Linked DNA regions of Homo sapiens: region 2 is linked to region 1. Evidence: promoter capture Hi-C in 16 types of primary human blood cells and fetal thymus (Javierre and others, 2016). All regions are on one chromosome and are shown on one strand. The core of a region is centred on a gene start or on the middle of the fragment in contact, and the rest is flanking DNA. Distances in the headings are between cores, read along the strand shown.

Region 1 (2,751 bases), core at 1-2,500:
TGTAACAGAGGTAACACAAGTAAACATATCTTTCTCCAGCCTTTTTAGTTTGTCTTTAAGAAAATACAGCAACTACGAAAACGCTTGTGAGTTGTTTCCAGTAAGTTTAACAAAATCATACAATAACATAATAAGCAGAGGGGTAATGAGTGGAGTTCCTTTCATTGTGTGAAAGGAGGGGTTCAGAGCGCCCAGGGAGTGCTGAAGAGGGCCCGTGGCAGGGAAATCAGAGTCTCTCTCCTCTGGATCAGAGGACACGCCTCTCCTTACAGGTCAGGTCACATTTTAAAGTTGAAGAGGCCTTTGTCAGTTACATGCTTTCCCCCAATACTTTATTACAGTGACGCGACCTTAAGAAAAGTCAGCACATTCCTGAGGACAAGTCGGGGTGCGCTTTACCACGCGGACACTGTTGCCCCTAACCCAAGACAGCAGGGGGGACCTGGTCCCCGGGGGGGGAGTGATGCCAGGATCCCGAGCCGACCTCCGCCAGGGGAACGCCGGTCAGTGCCTGCAGGTCAGATCAGTGCTGTAACCCTGTAACGAACAGGGTGTCTCTCCCAAATCTGCCAGCTTCGGGATGCTGGCGTGGGTAGGCGCACATCCACGCACGGCGGAGCGCGGGCTGCAGCCCCGGGCAGTTTTCAGGGTCCTCACCTGTGCGCTTCACCTCTAGGCACCTGCGCGCGGGGCCTCCATGTCCCCCTCCTTGGAGACCGAACTGCATTCCATTCAAATCCCAAAGGACGTCCCCTCCATCCATCAGACACCCCCGTCCCACTAACACACAGTCGCTGCCGAAGGAGCAGCGCCTGTGGCCCGCACACCTCGCAGCCCCGAGTCCCGGCGCCCGGTCCTTACCAGCTGCTCCTGCAGCGCGGCCAGCGCCGCCTCCAGCTGCTGCTCGGGGCCGTGGAGGCCGTGGGGGCCGCAGGGCGCGGCGGGCGCGGGCGGGGGCTGCAGGGCCAGGGCGCCCCGTACCCGCTCCTGCTGCGTGGCTCGCAGCCCCTGCAGCTCCTGCAGCCCCGCGAACGCCGCGCGCAACCTCGCGCCCAACCTACGGCGGTCCCAGCCCGCGGACCCCGGGGGTCCGCCCGGCGTCCACATCTCCCGGGCAGGGTCCCGGCCTCCCGAACCCCACGAGCGGCGCCGGAGGCCCAGCGCGCGCGGATCCCGAGCTGTGTCGCGGGTCCTCCTGCGCCTCCTCTCTCCGCCCCCGGCTCCGCAGGTCGCCAAGGTGGGCTGGAATCTGTGGCCAGGCGCGGAGGGCGGGGTCTGCACGCGCCCCGAGGTCACCGCGGCCTCCCCCGGACCCGCCCCGCCGACCCCCCAGGGCCCCTCGCCGGCTGCGGGCAGGGCGGGCGCACCCAGACCCCGGGGCCAGCTGAGCGCCTCCGTGACTTCAGCGGGGAGGGCCAGCCGGGAGGAGGAGCCCGGGGGAGAGGGGCAAAGAGGCGCAAGTGGAACAAAGGCGGAGAAAGGCTTGTTAATGTTTTAAAATGTTTATAAAGATAAACTATTGGGACATTATCACATTGCAAGGACCGTGTTACCATTACAGACGCAGTAGAGATTTCAAAACCGTGTTACCCACGTTTCCCAATGGGTATCTGCAGTTTGGAAACCGCACCTCGCTTTTTTTTTTTTTTTTTTTTTTTTTTTTTTTTTTTTGAGACAGTGTCTCGCTCTGTCGCCCAGGCTGGAGTGCAGTGGCGCGATCTCCTCTCACTGCAACCTCTGCCTCCCGGGTTCAAGCGATTCTCCTGCCTCAGCCTCCCGAGTAGCTGGGACTACAGGCGCCTACCACCATACCTGGCTAATTTTTGTATTTTTAGTACAGATGGGGTTTCACCATGTTGGCCAGGCTGCTCAGCTTGCTTTTTAAATTTTTAAAATAATTGCTTAAGATGCAGTTCACATACCATAAAACTCACCTAATTTAAGGTGTACAGTTCGTTTTTAGTATATTAACGAAGTTGTGTTCACCACCCCCAAAAGAAACCCTGTTCTCATCGGTAGCTACCCCCATTCCCTCTCCTGCACCCCCACACATAGAACCACCACCCCGCAGGTTCTGGAAGTTCATGGAAATGGGGTCACACGCCAGGAGGTCTCTGTGGGGGCTCCTTTTGGTGAGCGTTTTCAAGGTGCGTCTGTGCTGCAGATTGCGTCAGAACTGTATTCCTTTGTGTGGCTGAATAATACTCCACTGCATGGCTGTGCCAAGTTTTGTTTATCCATTCATCTGCTGATGACATGTGAGTTGTTCCATTTTTTAGCTATTACGAATAACGCTGCAAGGACATTCCTGTATGAGTTTTTGTGTGGCAATATGTTTTCATTATACCTAAGAGAGGAATGGCTGGATCGTAGGTGACTACCGTGCTTAATCTTGTGAGGAGCTGCCAGGCTGCTTTCCAAGTGGAATCACAGCAGCCAGCGGGGTATGAGGGTTCCATTTCCTCAGTGTGCACACCAACCGCTGTCTTTAGTCCAGCAGATGTGAAGTGGTATCTCCCTGTGGTTTTGATTTGTGTTTCCCCGATGGCTAAGGACGTTGAGCATCTTTCCATGTGCTTGTTGTATACTTCCTTTGGAGAACTGTCTATTCAGATCCTTGGCCCATTTTAAAATTTAGGTTGTCTTTTCGTTATTGAGATGTGAGTATTCATTATACAATTCCCTTATCAGACATGATTTGCACTTCCCTTATGAAATACATGATTGACAAATAATTTTTCCATGTTGTGA
Region 2 (2,700 bases), core at 107-2,606, 240 kb before region 1:
CCCCAGGAAACTACAGGACATCCCCCATTAGCTCAACTCCAGCTTCTCGTTGCTGGGTGGGGACACAGAGTCTTGGGGAAGATTTTGCCACAAACATAGATGTGGGCGTTTACGTAAACACAGAACTCTATCCCGAAGCAGACAAGAGACTCCCAGATTCCCAGGGGACTTGAACCAGGATATTACTAGCAAGTCATACTCCATTCCAGGTAGCAATGATACATTAGCTATGCAGAAAGTCATCGTTCTTCAACAAACCACTCTCATTTTAATTGCCACATTTTCATTATCCACATTAATCATTAAAATGAAAGTACCATCTCAACTCCTGTCGCCATGAACTCAACTAAAACAGGTAGACAAAATGGGGGAAAGGGAAAAGAAAAGGAAATAGAGAAGCATAGAGATGGTGACGTCTGAACACAAGACAGGAGCTGCTCCTTGGAAACCGGCTTCCTGGCGCTCTTCCCTCAGCGCTCCCTCCCGGGAAGGATGTGCTGAACCATAAACTTATTTCTCACAGCAACGTCTATCAGGGATGTTTCCTTCACAGGCCCAGTGAAAGGGCTGGCCCTTGACACCTCACAGACACCTGGCCTAAGCAGAGTGAGGCGGTCCAGGGACTTTCCATACACAGGCTGTGTCCTGAGGCTCTGCTCACCCCATACCCCTGCTCACCCCCACGGCCCTGCTCACCCCCACGGCTCTGCTCACCCTCACAGCCCTGCTCACCCCCACGGCTCTGCTCACCCTCACGGCCCTGCTCACCCCCACAGCCTTGCTCACCCCCACGGCCACCCAGGGCCCTGCTCACCCCCATGGCTCTGCTCACCCCCACAGCCCTGCTCACCCCTATGGCCACCCAGGGCCCTCCTCACCCCCATGGCTCTGTTTACTCCCAAGGCCATCCAGGGCCCTGCTCACCCCCACGGCCACCCAGGGCCCTGCTCACCCCCACGGCCACCCGGAGCCCTGCTCACCCCCACAGCTCTGTTTACCCCCACGGCCACCCAGGGCCCTGCTCACCCCCACGGCCAGCCGCAGTTGCTCCCGGCTGGGCAGCAGCACGAGGACATCCCTGTGTTCCGAGGCCATCGCGTCCATTCCCAGGGTCGGCTCCTGCTGACTGCATGCAGGCCTCTCAGGACTGGGTTCCATACATCGCGCCCCTGAAGGAGGGAACGTGTCAGGGTTTGTCCGGGCGGGGTCTATGCCCCTCCCTCTCGGGGGCACCGCCATGCTGTCGTTACTCGGCCCTCCCCCGCCATGGGTCGCAGGTGGGTGCTCAGCACCTCCCAGATCACAGCTGTGCTTTCCGGGACCCGCCCTTGCCGAGCTTCTCACTGGGAAGGGAATTGAGAGGGAAGCCTGGGCTGGGAATCCAGCATGGCCAAGCCAGGACAAGGGTCAGAGCTGCAAATAGCTGGGTGTGTGGAGGGCGCCAGGAATGCAAATAAACAACCTCAGGCTGGGCACCCGCCATGCAGCACTCCCATGCAGGGTAGCTCAGCAGCCAGCCTCGGTGTGGGCCCCGTGAGAACCAGGCTGGGGGAGACAGGACCCAACTCCTCCACCTGACAACCCCTATCTCCTCAGGGTGCCTGCTCCTTCTTCTATAATGTGGAGAGGGCTATGCAAACCCCATGGGCACAGATGCCAGAGCCAGGGCTGCTGGGGAAGATGGAGCAGCAGCAGGGCAGGACGAGGAGGGCGGGAGGAAGGCAGCCTGGGTGGGCACCCTGCCCCACACACCTCCTGTGGCATCTGTTATCGACCTCAGGAAGCAGCACAGCTGCCGTTCCTGGACAGGTTCTGCCAGGAGGGACCCTGGCTCCCTTTAGGGGCTGGAAACTGAGGACACTTCCTTCCTTGTCCAGGGCCAGCAAATCCCTTCCTGCCTGCAGCAGCTGGAAGGCCAGGAAGGGGGTCCTGGCTTGCGTGGACAGCAGCCGGGTGCATCAGCACGAGGGGTGGGGACATCTCCCGCAGGGCCTGGAACCCCTGAGGCCGCTCAGCAGAGATGAGCAACGCCTTCGAGCTCTTTGGCACAGTGTTAGGTGGGGAAGGGACCCCAGGATCCTGCCTGGCCCTGGGACCACCCAGACCTTTGGGCGCTGCAGGTCAGGAGAGGCAGTTCCCACGGGCCTGGGCTGTGGAATTCTGTCCTCAGCCGTGAGCTCCATCAGTTTCCTGCCATGGAGTCTGGGATGCTCTGGGACCTTCCTCTAGTAAGGGGTCTGGACCTCCGGACGGGCCGTTGTTCATCTTAGGAAATTCGCACTCCAGCCGCCTTAAGGCCTGGCCCGGTGGGTTTAGGAAATTCGCACTCCAGCCGCCCTAAGGCCCGGCCCGGTGGGTTGAGAAGATTTAGGAGGCTTAGGCCTCACCTCCCCCGGACCCTGGACTGACACTGGCTCCCTCCCTCCCTCCCTCCGCTCAGATCCAGACCCTTCCCAGACCCTCGAGGCCACACATGTGTGCCCAAGACAGCAGTGGCGGTCTCTTTTCTCTCCACAGCAAACGTAGAGCTGTTCACTATGGAAGATGTGGGGATCCCTTTAGCTGAGAGCACAAAAAGTTTTAAAAATGGCAAAAAAACCACAAAAAAAAACAGCCCCAGAGAGCAGAGGCTGGATCCTCATGGCCCTGTGCCACTGGCGCCTGAGCAGCTCGTCCCTGTGCCGGGTGCCCTCAGCCGCT

What was found. The method cuts DNA at HindIII sites, captures the fragments that hold promoters and counts their contacts. A CHiCAGO score of 5 or more calls a contact.
Region 2: the fragment with the promoter of FRMD1 here is called in contact with the fragment with the promoter of DACT2 in region 1 in 5 of 17 cell types (erythroblasts, neutrophils, monocytes and 2 more); the score reaches 7.9 in erythroblasts.

Annotation. Positions count from the first base shown.
Region 1 is chr6:168,318,527-168,321,277 of GRCh38, forward strand. It overlaps DACT2 (dishevelled binding antagonist of beta catenin 2), which reads right to left and starts at 1,251. Exons shown (of 4, transcript NM_214462.5): 1 at 862-1,251. The coding sequence starts at 1,107. The HindIII fragment of the contact is 10,835 bases long and covers 1-2,751 here.
Region 2 is chr6:168,077,856-168,080,555 of GRCh38, forward strand. It overlaps FRMD1 (FERM domain containing 1), which reads right to left and starts at 1,357. Exons shown (of 11, transcript NM_024919.6): 1 at 1,027-1,357. The coding sequence starts at 1,239. RefSeq lists an enhancer at 348-1,069. The HindIII fragment of the contact is 11,905 bases long and covers 1-2,700 here.